Linked DNA regions of Homo sapiens: all the other regions are linked to region 1. The links are contacts of gene promoters, found by promoter capture Hi-C in blood cells and fetal thymus (Javierre and others, 2016). All regions are on one chromosome and are shown on one strand. The core of a region is centred on a gene start or on the middle of the fragment in contact, and the rest is flanking DNA. Distances in the headings are between cores, read along the strand shown. Region 1 holds the start of LENG8-AS1 (LENG8 antisense RNA 1). Region 2 holds the start of ZNF580 (zinc finger protein 580). Region 3 overlaps ZNF524 (zinc finger protein 524). Region 4 holds the start of NAT14 (N-acetyltransferase 14 (putative)).

What was found. Contacts are between HindIII fragments. The CHiCAGO score rates a contact against its expected background, and 5 or more counts as called.
Region 2: a contact is called between the fragment with the promoter of ZNF580 here and the fragment with the promoter of LENG8-AS1 in region 1, in 4 of 17 cell types (activated CD4 T cells, naive CD4 T cells, total CD4 T cells and 1 more). The highest score is 7.7, in activated CD4 T cells.
Region 3: a fragment that was not itself captured here is called in contact with the fragment with the promoter of LENG8-AS1 in region 1 in 4 of 17 cell types (activated CD4 T cells, fetal thymus, naive CD4 T cells and 1 more); the score reaches 11.3 in activated CD4 T cells.
Region 4: the fragment with the promoter of NAT14 here is called in contact with the fragment with the promoter of LENG8-AS1 in region 1 in 1 of 17 cell types (naive CD4 T cells); the score reaches 7.1 in naive CD4 T cells.

What each region holds. Positions count from the first base shown.
Region 1 is chr19:54,447,455-54,450,963 of GRCh38, reverse strand. LENG8-AS1 (LENG8 antisense RNA 1) reads left to right here and starts at 1,926. Exons shown (of 3, transcript NR_126418.1): 1 at 1,926-2,402; 2 at 2,749-2,799. LENG8 (leukocyte receptor cluster member 8) reads right to left here and starts at 1,765. Exons shown (of 16, transcript NM_052925.4): 1 at 1,654-1,765. RefSeq lists an enhancer at 1,108-2,015. The HindIII fragment of the contact is 2,202 bases long and covers 799-3,000 here.
Region 2 is chr19:55,639,010-55,642,518 of GRCh38, reverse strand. It overlaps ZNF580 (zinc finger protein 580), which reads right to left and starts at 1,517. Exons shown (of 2, transcript NM_207115.2): 1 at 1,336-1,517; 2 at 1-22. The coding sequence starts at 10. It overlaps LOC107983998 (a long non-coding RNA gene), which reads right to left. Exons shown (of 2, transcript NR_171683.1): 2 at 1,720-2,393. It also overlaps a transcript of ZNF581 not described here. RefSeq lists a silencer at 1,148-1,667. The HindIII fragment of the contact is 9,119 bases long and covers 1-3,509 here.
Region 3 is chr19:55,601,184-55,604,692 of GRCh38, reverse strand. ZNF524 (zinc finger protein 524) reads right to left here. Exons shown (of 2, transcript NM_153219.4): 2 at 1,555-2,618. The coding sequence starts at 2,580. The coding sequence ends at 1,786. Among named protein-coding and RNA genes, the nearest start is that of ZNF524, 2.6 kb to the right of the region's middle. RefSeq lists enhancers at 1-424, 1,528-2,078. The HindIII fragment of the contact is 3,453 bases long and covers 1-3,324 here.
Region 4 is chr19:55,483,647-55,487,155 of GRCh38, reverse strand. It overlaps NAT14 (N-acetyltransferase 14 (putative)), which reads right to left and starts at 1,968. Exons shown (of 3, transcript NM_020378.4): 1 at 1,898-1,968; 2 at 1,376-1,495; 3 at 1-748. The coding sequence starts at 1,447. The coding sequence ends at 200. It overlaps ZNF628 (zinc finger protein 628), which reads right to left. Exons shown (of 3, transcript NM_033113.3): 3 at 2,669-3,509. The coding sequence ends at 2,783. RefSeq lists an enhancer at 1,329-1,658 and a silencer at 1,759-2,178. The HindIII fragment of the contact is 21,455 bases long and covers 1-3,509 here.

The DNA.
Region 1 (3,509 bases), core at 677-3,176:
GGGGTGCCTCCATCAAGGGGAAAAGGTCTACAAAAAATTCTAGGGGCCAGGCGCGGTGGCTCACGCCTGTAATCCCAGCACTTTGAGAGGCCAAGGCGGGCAGGTCACCTGAGGTCGGGAGTTCGAGACCAGCCTAACCAACATGGAGTAACCACGTCTCTACTAAAAATACCAAATTAGCTGGGCATGGTGGCATATGCCTGTAATCCCAGCTACTAGGGAGGCCGAGGCAGGAGAATCGCTTGAACACGGGAGGCGGAGGGCGGTAAGCTGAGACTGCGCCATTGCTCTCCAGCCTGGGCAACAAGAGCGAAACTCTGTCTCAAAAAAAAAAAAAAAAAAAAAGCTAGGGAGTACGGGTTGTGAAAGGAACCTGAACCAAGAGGATGGATGCTATAATGAGAAGAGTCTGAGGGAACCCTTAAGGCTGAGAGGGTGGAAAGGTTTCCGAGAACTCTGTGAAAAGGGAGGCCTTTCAGGGAGCATCGAGGGGGCTGGAAGAATATTGGAGAAGAGAAGAAAATTTTGAGAGGAAAAGGGGATTTTCCGGAAGTTAACCCTGGAAGCAAGTGGTCGTTGAGCGTTCCTGAGAATGCCAACGTGAACCCCAACGTGAAGAAATGGGTTCTTAGCACTGACAGACTGATTTCAAAAAGGTCTCCGAAGGGCAGTAAAGAGACCTACGTGGGAGTCCTCAGTGGGACTACCCCTGCCTGCTTCCACGGGAGGTTCCCGGAAGCAGGGGTAGGGCTGGGAGAGAAAAGGGATCACCGTGGTTGGGTGTCTGGACATAAAGCTTTGGGAATGCCAAAGAAGACCCAAAACATGTTCAACGAATTAAGAGTGGGGTACAGAGAGAATTGGAAGAAAAGTGGAGTGTCTCCGGAGCAAGGATTCAGGAGCCTAAACTCCCGAGAGGGAGTAACTGATAAGTAGGATAATTAATCCCGCAGGAGAACCGGAATTCCCACGAGTTGACGGGATAGGAACGGGAGTCTGGAGCTGGGGAAAAGCCCTAGAAACGCAAAGGCTTAACTTAAACAGGACACAGGGCGTGGGTGGAGACGAGGGATCGTGGCGGGGACACAGGAAGAGGAGCCCCAGGGCAGAAGGGAGATTAGAGGTAAGGTCAGGAGTTGGGGGCTGGACAGAGGACTCCCGGACGGGTCTCAAGAACAGAGACAGGCATCAGACGCGAGGCCTGAGGTCCCGGGAGCACCTGGCCGTCCCGCAGGCTGGGCGAAGGCAAAGGAGGACGCCGGGTGGAGGAGGCCGCTCGGATCCCCACGACTAGCCACGGAGCCACTGCCCAGGCCGCGCCTGCGCACCACGCCCCAGAAAGACGCGCAGGAGCCGCCCGTCGCCCGGGGCAACACCCGGTCAACGGCGAGTGAGGGGCGCCCCGGGGCCCCGAGAACTCCAAGGGAGAGGAACGGAAATTAGAAGACGACGGCGCACGCGCGCTAGTGCCCGAACGCGCGGCCCCAGGCCCGGTGCGCAGGCGCAGTGGCTGCCCCTGCGCCGCCACACCCTGTCGACGCTCGCGCGCGGCGTCTGCTGCTGCGACGGCCGAGAAGGCCTCGGGGCTCGCGGGGCGCAAGACCAAAAGGAGATGCTATCCCCGCCCGCCTGCTCGCCTGCCGCTCCCCTTACCAACCAGGATCCTTCGCTGCAGGGACACGCCAACAACCACCCAGGCGATCAGCAACACGGCCACGACACCGCTGTGCCACCCGGCTGGCTCTGGTCTTCTTTGGCTTCGACGTCCTGACCGCGGCGTCCTGACGTCACGCGGCGGCCTTGCACCGCCTCCCTCGGCCCTGCACAGCCAATGAACGCCACGAGCTGCGCTTGAGCCCGCCTTCCTGCCCACGCACTTACGCATGAACATTTTAAGGCAGACCGGAAGTCTGGGTGGGGACGGTGGCCCCGAGGAGACAAGCGTGGCCGCATTAGCTCTTTCTGCCTCCCACGCAGCCTTATTTTTTTTATTGTTGTTTTCTTGTTGCTGTTGTTGTTGTTCTCGGAGACGGAGTCTTGCTCTTGCTCTGTCGTCGCCCACGATAGAGTACAGTGGCGTGATCTCTGCTCACTGCAACCTCCGCCTCCTGGGTTCAAACAATTCTGCCTCAGCCTCCGGAGTAGCTGGGATTACAGGCGCGCGCCACTATGCCCGGCTAATTTTTGTGTTTTTAGTAAAGACGGGGTTTCACCATGTCGGCCAGGCTGTTCTCGAACTCCTGACCTCGTGATCCCTCCGTCTCGGCTTCCCAAAGTGCTGGGATTACGGGCGTGAGCCACCGTGCCCGGCCGCAGCCTTGTTTTGACTGAGTCAGTGGGAGCCATTACTGTTCCTAAATGTAAACTGGCGTGACAGGAGTTCCGGGATTGTCCACAGCACGGTGATGTGGAAGCCCTGGGGAGAGAATGATAAAGAAAGGGGATGAGGAACAGCTCCACCCGGAAGAGCGGGCTTCCCTAGCAAATGAATCTGGAAGGGCGCAGGGGAGGGGGCACGGCGAGTTCAGATGGACCGAGGCTGGAAGCTGACGCGGTTGGAGGGGGATGGGTGTAGCTGTTGGCAGTGGCGCTGGGGTGGAAGTGTGTGGGGTCACAGATGTGTAAGGGTGGGCGCGGAGCAGACCCCCGAAGGTCCCTGAGGTCAGGCTGAGGCATTGGACCAAATCCGTACATAGGCATTTCTCTGAACTGCGCGCCACCTTTTGAGTGCCATCTGTTTCCGTCCAGGACTCTGATACAACTATCCAGTCCGCTGCAGGGACCGGTCACTGTGTCACAGTAAGTGGTGGGATTTAAGAGGCAGTTTTCCTCCTCATGTTCTACCATTATGAACGTCTAGCTTGAAAAATACATACCATTTTCATAACTACGTATTATTTTGTTAGTGCTAGCATAGTAGATCTTTTTCCGTTATTTTACTCTGTGGGGGGGGGGGGGTTTGTTTTGTTTTTGTTTTTGTTTTCTTTTTGGTACTAAGCTTTTTGTTCTGGAATAATTTTGGATTTATTCAAAACGTTGCAAAGACCGGGCGCGCTGGCTCACGCCTGTAATCCCAACACTTTGGGAGGCCGAGATGGGTGGATCACCTGGGGTCAGGAGTTCAAGATCAGCCTGGCCAACATGGTGAAGTCCCGTCTCTACTAAAAATACAGAAATTAGCTGGGCGTGGTGGCGCGTGCACCTGTAATCCCGGCTACTCGGGAGGCTGAGGCAGGAGAATCGCTTGAACCCAGGAGGCCAAGGTTGCAGTGAGCCGAGGTTACACCATTGCACTCCAGCCTGGGCAACAAGAGTGAAATTCTTGTCTCAAAAAAAAAAAAAAGAAAAGTTGCAAAGATCATAAGCAGTCCACCATGTTTTATGCCCACTTTCTTCTGATGCTGTCATCACAAGCACCAACAAAAGTGGTTTGTTGTAGATACTGACATGATGCATTACTGTAACTAAAACCCAGACTTTACTGGGATTTCACCACCTTTTCCTCCAAT
Region 2 (3,509 bases), core at 268-2,767, 1.2 Mb before region 1:
GCAGCAGCATCTGGAGCGGCAGCTGGGAGCGGCGGAGGGGAGATTAGTTAAAATTGCCACTTCCTTTTAGGAAAAGTTTCCTAAAATGGAAAGCATCCCCACTATCACTGCTTGTTACCCTTTGTGCGCCACTGACTACCTCCCTAGCAAAATAAAAACTGTGACTCCAGCCCGGCTCTCCCACGTTCCATCAAGCTGCCTCGGAGAGGGCCTCCAACTGAGCTCTGCAAAACCCCGCCACCACCTGCCACTCCTCCTGGGTCCACCTCTCACCACTCAGGTCAGGTCTGAGGACGTAGTCCCCCGACTTTTCTTCCCTTTTCTCCTCTCAACCCACCCCAGCAGACAATCAATCCCTAAATCTGTTTACCTCTTTACATCTTAGACCCCGGGCCTCCTGACCGCCGAGATTTCTCTAATCTGTGGTTTCTTCTTTTTTCCTGTTGCCCAGCCCCAGTTCAGTTTACTTCCCCTCCCTTTGCCGCCCCCTACCCCCCCACCGGCCCCCGTATCGGCCTCCTGGCCCTCCGTCCCCACTACATGCCGCAGGGCCTCCCCATCTTCATATTCCGTGGCCTCCCTCACTTCCTCTCTAGGTACCTCCCCAGAGCCCCACTAACCCAATTCCCCACATTTCACTAGGGCTTTTCCATCCTGTTCCTACACTTAGCACCTCGAAGTCTAGTCACCTCTCCCCACTACGGAACCCATCGTCTTACTACATCTATACACCCCAAAATGGCTCAAATGCCTTCCTTCTGTATACCCCGCCCCCCCAACCTGGCTACCTGCTACATTCTCCCCAAAGGCCCCCTTTTCTCTCGCCCCCCATATATGGCGGTGACATCGTTACTTCTTTCTGTACCCATCAGGGGCCTTCTCCCAAACCCCGTTATGCACACCAGGCTCCGGGACTCCGCTTCCCACAGCACCTCTCCCAAGCCCACTTTCCCCTCCTTTCTGTGTACGTCTGGCATCTCTCTTTCTCCTCGTGTTCACCTCTTCCAGGAGCCCCATCCCTCTCCCTGTTACACACAGCGTGGTCCCCCGCCCGTTCTTTTGCTCTGCTCCCCTTGTTTATGGGAACCCCAGCGCCCGGGCGTTTTCGCCCCCATCCCGCTACACACCGCCTGTCCCCTGGCCCTGGGGCCCCTCCTATTGCCTTCACTTCCCCAAGGAGCCCTGGCGCCTCGACTTCCCCTCCCGTCCCTCCGCCCGATCCTGCCGCTCCCGACCCCCACCCCCATCCCGGGTGGCTCCAGCGCACTCCCCCAGCCTGCCTGGCCCCGGCGTCGTCCCAGGGCCAGGCTCCTCCCTCCATCCCGGCCCCCGTACCCCGTGCGGCGGCCTCTCGGGTCCGGAGGAACGGGCCGAGGTCCCGGGCGGCCCCGGGCTTCCCCTGGCGAGCGCCGGCGGCGGAACCGAGACTTCCGGGCAGCTCCGGGCCGGCGGCGCCGGGGACGCGGGGACTGGGGGCGCGGGGGTGCGAGGGGTTGGCGGAGTCCCTGGGAAAAGGCGCCGGCCGGAAGCGCGCGAGCCCAGTGCGGAGGTTCCGCCGCCTGGAGCCGGCGCTCCCACCCCTCGCCTCTGCGGAGCGCCCTGCGGGGAGGGGACCGGAGGCGTGGGGTCCACTGAAGACGCCCGCCCCCGGCGGCCCCGCTCCCCTCCCACCTCCCGAACGGAACGATTCCGCCGCTTGACAAGAGATCGGCCAATAAACCGAGACTAAGCAAAGTTACGTCTTCGCCCTAAGGCCCACAAGGGTTTGTCCTCTTTCCACTGGGCCGTCGCTGCCTGCTCGGCCGTGGCCACCCACCGAGGTAGAGGGCGGGAGAAGGGATGTTCCTGCCGGCTGAGCAAATGTGGAGACCGAGGTCCAGAGACCAGCCATTGGCTCCGATGTGGCCGGGCCGTGATTCTCCACCCAGCAAATGGGGAGGCCGAGGCCCGGAGAAGGCCAGACGCTGCCAGATAGTTGGGGAAGGTATGTTCTTTCCACGGGGCACATGCGGGAACCGAGGCCCACAGAGGGCCAGACGGCTGCATGCGCAGGTGGGGAGGTGTGATATTTCCAGAAGGCATGTGGCGACACCGAAGCGCAGCGAAGGCCAGGCTTTGCCAGATGCGGAGGTGGGAAAGGCTGGCACTGCCCACGGGGCCCACTGGAAGCCTGATGCGGGCTCGCGGGCTGCGCCAGGTCCTGGGGCACTTGAGGCCCGGGCGCTGGCTGCGCATGCGAAGGACTCCGGCGTCGAAAGCAACGCGCGGTGGCGCTGCAGCCGCACTGGAGAGCTGCACACGCGGCAGCACTCGGGGCAGCTGCAGCTCCTCCTCCAGCCACGTGGCGCCACGGCCTCGCAGGAGGGCGGCAGCAGCAGCATCTGCAGGTGCAGCTGAGAGTGGGGGACAGAAGAGGAGTAACTGTCACAGCGAGCCCCAAGACCCTGGGGTGCCACAGCTACATCCTAGAGCACTGTCCATCAGAACTTTCTGCAATGGTGGAAAGTTCTATGACAGTCACTAGCCACGTGGGACTCTTACACTCTTGAAATGTGGCTGGTGTATCAGAGGACCTGAATTTTAAATTGTATTACATTTCCCATAATCAGCACGGTGGCTCACACCTGTAACCCCAGCACTTTCGGAGGCCAAGGCGGGCGGATCACCTGAGGTCAGGAGTTCGAGACCAGCCTGGCCAACATGGTGAAACTCCTTCTCTACTAAAAGTACAAAAATTAGCCGGCCGTAGTGGTGCTCCCCTACAGTCCCAGCTACTTGGGAGGCTGAGGCAGGAGAATCGCTTGAACCCAGGAGGTGGAGGTTGCAGTGTGCCAAGATCGTGCCACTATACTGCAGCCTGGGCAACAGAGGGAGACTGTCTCAAAAAATACTAATTTCCCATAATCAAAATTTAAGCCACATATGGCTCCTACCTTATGGAACAATTCCAGAGACCACTGTCAACCAGTTGTAAACTGGAGGCCCAAGGGCCCAAAAGGCCTCACAGTTATATTTGGTTTGGGACACAAGGTACTTTTTAAACATTTTACTGGGCAGTATGTATATTTTTTGAGACAGAGTCTCACTCTGTCGCCCACGCTGGAGTGCAGTGGCATGCTTCTGGCTCACTGCAGCCTCACCCTCCCAGGCACAAGTGATCCTTCCACTTCAGTCTCCCAAACAGCTGGGACTACAGGCGTGGGCCACCACACATTTTGAGCCGGACCACTCTTTGTTGTGGGGGCCCATCCTGTGCACTGTAGAGTGTTGAGCAGCATCCTTGGCCTCCACCCACCAGATGGCAGTAGCACCCTCCCCCAACCCCAAGTTGTGACAACCCAAAATGTCTCTACACATTGCCCGTGTCCTCTAGGAGGCAACATGGCTCCTAGCTGAGAACCCCTGGTCTACTTAGACAATTATCCAACCTGAGTGTCTTGCCAAGATCCCTGATATAGTTAAGATGTCTGTCCCCTCCAAATCTTTTTTTTTTCTTTTTTTTTTTTTTT
Region 3 (3,509 bases), core at 349-2,848, 1.2 Mb before region 1:
CTTTAAGCCCCGGCCCCCGGCCCTCGGCCCTGAACCACGCCCACCTCAGAGCTGAATTATTATAAGCTCCGCCCCTCACCTTAAAATCCGTTCTCTTGGCCTGGCGTGGTGGCTCACGCCTGTAATCCCAGCACTTTGGGAGGCCAAGGCAGGCGGATTGCTTGAGCACAGGAGTTCAAGACCAGCCTGGGCAATATGGCAAAACCCCGTCTCTACAAAAAAAAAAAATACAAAAATTAGGCTGGACGCGGTGGCTCACGCCTGTAATCCCAGCACTTTGGGAGGCCGAGGCGGGTGGATCACGAGGTCAGGAGGTCAAGACCAGCCTGGCCAAGATGGTGAAACCCCGTCTCTACTAAAATTACAAAAATTAGCCAGGCGTGGTGGCGGGCGCCTGTAATTCCAGCTACTCGGGAGGCTGAGGGAGAGAACTGCTTGAACCCGGGAGGCAGAGGTTGCAGTGAGCCAGATTGCCCCACTGCACTCCAGCCTGGACGACAGCAAGACTCCGTCTCAAAAAAAAAAAATTAGCTAAATATGCTGGCGCCCGTCTGTAGTCTCAGCTACTCCGGAGGCTGAAGCAGGAGGGTCGCTTGAGCCTGGCAGGTCGAGGCTGCAGTGAGCGGTGATAGGGCCACTGCACTCCAGCCTGGATGACAGAGCGAGACCCTGTCTCAAAAAAAAAATTATCCGTCCTCCTTGCCCCACTCTCACGCAGTTCCTCCTGTTCTTCCCCAGCTCCAAGCCCCTACTCTCTATTAGATCAACTCTATCCATCCTCTTTAAACCGCTCTCACTTTCTGCGGACCAACCCCTAAACCTCTTTAAGCCCCACCCAACTCTAACCCTCTTCTAAGCCCCCGCCCCAGGTCCCAGCCTAACTGCCCCGCAATCTCAGCCCCACCCCTCGCTCCTTAGCCCCGCCCCAATCCACACCCCTTATCTCTAAACCTTACCCAGACCGTCCTGCTCATACCTTTGTCTTAATTTTTCCTTCCAAACAGTAGGTCCTCAGGACAAGGAGGTGGGGCAAAGTGGCTGCAGAATTTCTGGGAATTGGCTAGGAGAGAGGCGGTCGGACCTACAGTCAGGTCTGCATGGAAGGTTCAATGTTTTTAGTTAGATTGGATGTGTACTGGGAATACAGCTGACCCTTGAACAACAGGGGTTTGAACTGCAGGTCCATTGAGAGGCGGACGTTTTTTCACCCAAACACCGGTGGAACATACAGTATACGAAGGGCGGATTTTCCTACATCCGCGGGTTCCGCAGGGCCCACTGCTGGACTTGTGTATGCCCAGATCTTGGTATCTGCGAGGTTCGTGGAACCAATTCCCCGCGGACTCCGAGGGACCCATGGACTTTGGGGTCTGATGGAGATGGGGAAGGGGCCAAGGTTCCCCCCAAAACCATTCTTTGGCGAGCACCACGCTCATGAGGCACAGGAAGTGGGGTCCTCTCCAATTCCCCGCACTCCCGACAGGACGGTGTAGCCGAGGAAGAACATTTGAAGGCAGGAGAGGATGGCATCCCGGCACGGAACACACACAGGCAGCCAGCAGGCAGAGATTTATTTCCACAGCCCCTGCCTCCAAGGGTCTGTTAGTCTGGGGGAGGGGGGCTGAAGGCAGCTGGACCCCAAAGTTTAGGTCTCCACCCTCCACCTGCTCCCACAACGGGAAGACCACCGGAAACAAGGGTGTCCCGGCCCCCTGGCTCAGGCCCAGCACCAGCCAAACTCCCTGCTCTAAACCTGGCCCAGGGAGCGATGGCCGGGGGTGTGGGTCAGGCCGGCTCCCCTTTCCCCTCTGTCTCCTCCTCCTCCTCGGCCCCTGCTGTGGCCGGGATGCCCTCCTCGTCCCACGGCGGTTCAGACCCTGGATCTGGTGCACACAGGGGTACCCCCATGGCCTCCGGGTGCTTGCGCTTCGCATGGCGCCGGAGCGTGTTGGCCTCTGTAAAGCGCAGCCGGCAGATGGGGCACTGGTACGGGCGCTCCCCCGAGTGCACGCGGTGGTGGTGCGCCAGCTCGCCCGCCTCGCGGAAGCGGCGGGGGCACAGCGGGCAGCGGAAGGGCCGCAGGCCGGCATGGATGTTGCAGTGCCGCCGCAGGTGGCTGGAGCGCTTGAAGGTCTTGCCGCAAACCTTGCACTGGTGCGGCTTCAGCTCTGAGTGCGAGATGCTGTGGCGCTCCAGGTCGGAGAGGTAGGGGAAGGCCCGCAGGCACACCGGGCAGAAGTGTGGGGCCTTCCTGGGGCCAGAGCCCTCAGGCCCAGCCGCTGAACCTTCAGAGACCGTATAGGGCACACCCTGATCATCGATCAGGAGGAGGTCGCTCCCGCCACTGCTGCCTACTGGGGCTGTCACCCCCTGCACCTGCACCAGTGGGGGCTCCTGCCCTGACTTGGGGGGGCGGCCCCGCTTGCGAGGGAGGGAGGCCTTGAGTGTCCGATTTGAGGAGGTGGCTCCCCCAGGACGACGGCCTCGGCGGCCCCGGGGAACAGGAGGAGATAAGGCCAGAGGTTTCTCTTCCTCCCCGGGCAAAGGCGAAGGCAACGGGTCTGGGCTGGGGGTGTCCATTGAGCAGTGGGGGGCTTGGGTCTGGGCACTGGAGCCAGCTAAGAGGAGAGAGGGGCAGAGTCAGTGCTCACAGGGTCTAGAGCACCCCTGTGTCCCCCAACACCTCGCCCATCCCTCTCTCCAAGTCTCTTGACAAAGGTGTGTTTGACATTCATCCAGATACACAATTTTAGCTATGCTGGTGGGTAAAACAGTGAGATGATCTTGTATCAGCTGATAAACAGGCACTTCCCTGAGCTCCACCAGACATCCCTATGCCTCCCTAACTCTCCTTCTGGATCTAGAAGTTCAAGATCAACATGAGCAACACCCCTCCCCACCTCCCCACAAAAAAAAACCTTCCAGAGAGGATAGAGTCCAACTGAGAGTGCAGACCAGTATTGTGATCCTTGAAACGGAGAGCCCATCAAACTCCAGAGCCATAGAGGCCTCACGAATGCTCTCATCCCTCCCTGCTGACTGGCAGAAGTGGGGAAGGGGTTCCAGAGTGGAAAAAAGGGACTGGTCCCAGGTGATATTTGACCCTGATTCCTGGATGAGGAAACATATCTGCGATGTTAAGAGCCTGGGCCCTGGAGTCAAGACATCATTCGTTCAAATCTTTACTCTCTGCGTGGCCTTGGGCAAGGTGTTCGCTTCTCTAAGCCTTAATCAAGACTTTTGCAAAATGGGACACATAGTTCTACGTACTTGCCCAGACATGCCATGAGCATAATACCCACAAAGTGTTCATACACAGAAGCTTTCAGGACACATTAGCCATTGTTATCAGGAGCAGCTAAGCCTCACATCAACCCTCTGAATAGGGCATATCTGTCCCATTTTGCAGATGGGGAAACTGAGGCACAGGAAAGCCAAGTCAGTTGCCTAAGTTCCTCTGCCAGTAAATGGCAGGGCCAAAACTGGAAACAGGTCTTGTGACCCGAATG
Region 4 (3,509 bases), core at 719-3,218, 1.0 Mb before region 1:
AGCTCAAACACAACAGACTTCACACTGCTGACGGGTGGACAGAGGCCAGGCTCCTCCCCTCGGCAGGCCTCTGTTTCTGGGCCCAGGGTGGTTGAGGACTCACTGAGGGAGAGCAGGTAAAAGAACCCGCAGACAGTAGGCGATCATCAGGTGCTGGCGCCCCTCCCTCCTCCCCTGCCCTGGCTGTCAGTCTGTAGCTTCACAGGTCTTTGCTGAATTCCCTCACCAGCGTGTAGCCCAGGCAGCCCCAGCCCCCCTCGGCCTGGTAGCCACAGCCCTCCAGCATCCCTCCCACCCCCCAGGCGGCCACAGCCACGGGGACCACGAGCCGGGCCCGGGGCTCCCCCATGCCCCCAGCCCAGGCCCGAGCCCGGGCCTCCGCGAAGGCCAGCAGCCTCCTGCCCACGCCCCGGCGGCGGTGCCAGCGAGAGACAGACAGGCGGGTGACCCGGGCCCCGTCCCCTGCATTTGTGCCAGGGGCCAGAGCCAGGACCCCACACACGTCACCGGAGCCCCGCACGGCCACCCAGGGGCCCCCCAGGCCACCCGGCGGAGGCAGCGAGCCCCATCGGGCCCGCAGGCCCAGCTTCACGGCGGCCACAGCCAGGAACACCGGCAGGAGGAGGGCCAGGGCGAAGGAAGCCAGGACAAAGCGCAGGCCGCTGCTGGCCGCCGCCAGGAGGAGCAGGGCCGGCGGCCGTGTCAAGGCATGGAGGGCCACGCGGTTTTCCGTGTCCTTCACGCCGGCCTGTGGGCAGGAGGGGTGGCTCAGCCATCCGAAACGCTAGGGCCTCCTGGACAAAGAGAGGAGGTAGACCCTGCCCGGGGCGGGGTGAGAGCTCCCAAATGGGAAGGGAAGGCAGCACAGTCCGATGTTCAGTGTGGCACACTGGGTATGGAGTGAATGAATGAACGAGAGCGAATGATGGATGGATGAGTGAATTAGGAGCTGTGGGGGCACTCAATTCAGTAGCAATGCCGCAGTGAGGCCCCAGGGAAGTAAGGACAGGGAGGTTGCCTCAGGCTGGAGTGGAGGCTGGAGGGAGGCTGCTGGGCTAGGTTGGGGTGCTGGGCTGTGCTTTGAAGAGTTGGGGTCCGAGGCACAGAGCTGGCTGTTGTGCTGGCGTGCACAGCCGACTGGAGATGGGAGACCAGGGAGGGCGTTGGTGCTGGGGTCCCAGTAGGGCTGGGGGGGTGAGCCCCCACCTGCCACACCTGCTGTGGTTTTCAGCAGCAGGGCGGCTGAGGCTCAGGAGGAAAAGATCCCGCTCCAGGGGTCCAGGCTGGCTCAGGTGGGTGGGAGGGGGTGGCTGAATCCACTTGCAATTCCCCCACTGCAGCCACTCCCAGGCCCCCTGGGGCCCCTGCCTCTCACCTTCAGCATCTCCAGCACCAGGGGCTTCTCATCTTCCCTCATCTCCCGCACTGACAGGTGGCTGGGGGCCATGGCAACCCCCAGGCCCCGGCCCCCCAGAAGGGAGCTGGCGTCGTGCACCTGGTGAGAACATAAGTAGGTCAGCGTCAGGGGGGCACCTCTGTCCCCAAAGCTCCCCCGAGGGGTAGGGAGCAGCAACGGCACTTCCCAGATCAGGACACTGAGAACCCTCGGGGCCCCCAAGCGAGGATCTCGGCAGGACAGGCGCCCCCCACAATACTCAGCGACCTTGCTAAAGTCTCCCGGGATCCCCCCTCCCCCGTATTATTCAGCGATCTACACTCCCAAACGCGCTGCGGACGCCAACACTGCAGCACGGGGCTCCCTCCCAGGCACTGGGGTCCACGAACACCCTCCCCACATGCCAGAGAACGGACCACGCTCGCTCCACCCCGGTCCCCAGCGCCCCCTCCCCCACAGTCGTCCCCGTCCCGCGCCACAAGAACAAGGACCAGCAAGCACCTGCACCGGTCGCCTTTGGTCCTTCGACAAGGTTTCGGGAGCGGGTCTGGAAGGGGGTCGCGGGCGGAAGTGACGTCAGACCGCGCGCGGTGGGGCGGGGCGGCGCCCGCTCCGGGCCGTAGCAACCGTTGCTAAGCTCCCCGGAGGGCGGGCTGGGAGGAACCGAGCTGTGACCCTGCGGAGGGCCGGGAAGCGACCTCTCCTATCCCTAGAGAAGGAGCAACGGGGAAAGGGGACCTGGGGAAGAACGGGAGCGGAAGCCGGCAGGAGACGGGCGGCGGGCTGGGGACCAGCGCGAGCTCCCGCCCCACGTTCCCTCGTTGCTGAGCAACCTGAGCGCCGGGCGGCGACGCCAGCGCGTGGATTCTCATCCGTGCCGGGGCCTTCGCGGGAGGAGCCGGCCACGCTCAGCATCCTGGCGCCCGACTCCCCCATCCCCAGGGACCCCACTCCACCCACGGGGCGCCCGGGGTCGCAGAACCCTTCCGCATAAGGATCCCCCTACTTCTCACACGAGGGGGGCAGCGGGGCGACCTACAGTGAACAAGTAGCACTCCCTGGAGTCTGATGTCACCACCTCCCCACTATAATGACCCCTGCGGCCTTTTTTGGTTTCAGGACAGGGGAACTGAGCCCTACGTAGTGGCTGGCCCCAGGATGCAGAACAAGCCATCTGCGACCCAGGACGCAAGACTTAAGACTCCACGCTCCCAGGCGGGGGCTAGGACCATGACTTTGCCCCCTTCCCTCCCCCCAGGAAAACAAAACACAGGCGGGGAGACTCGGGTCTTTATTAGCAAGCCCAGCCTGCGGCACCCTGCCCCGCCCCGGCTGGCAGTGAGTCGGGGTCTCTGTGCGGGGCGGGAGGGGAATCACTGCCTCTCCTCAAAACGTGTGCACCAGCTGGACTGCGGGTAGAGTCTGGACAATCTGGATGGAGGGCAGGCCCTGAGGGGTCATAACACCAGGCCCAGCTCCTGCGGGGACCACTTGCACCATCTGGGAGGCTGGAGCCCCGGGGAGCCCCGCGGGGCCCGAGGCTGGGCCTGACGGCGGTGGGGCCAGGAGCTGCAGCGTGGCGGTGCCTCCTCCAGTGTTGCTGCTGTCCAGCAGCTCAGTGGCTGGGGCGCTGCGGATGATGAGGAGTTTCTGTCCGGGTGGGCCGGTGGCAGGCGGCTCCGTCAGCCCAGGAGGAAGTGTTTCTACCTCCTGTACGCAGAGTCGAGTCTGTTCGCCATCGGCCCCGCTCAGCACCAGCACGCTCTGCAAGCCCTCGTCCGTCTGGAGTGTCTCAAAGAGGACATCCTGGACCACACCAGTGCTGGCCTCGCCATCCCCCGCCTCCCCGGGGCCCGGGCCAGTGAGCAACTCCTCAGCTGCCCCGCTCTGAACAACCAGCAGGTTGGGTGCCTCAGTAGCCACAGCTCCCCCACTGGAATTGGAGAGCTGGCCGGCCACGGGCTGGAGCTGGACCGTGGTCACCTCCTGTGCTGGCTGGAGCTGGACCGTGGTTACTTCCTGTGCTGGCTGGAGCTGGACTGTGGTCACCTCCTGCGCTGGCTGGAGCTGGACCGTGGTTACTTCTGGGGCTGGTCGGAGGGGCTGGAGCTGC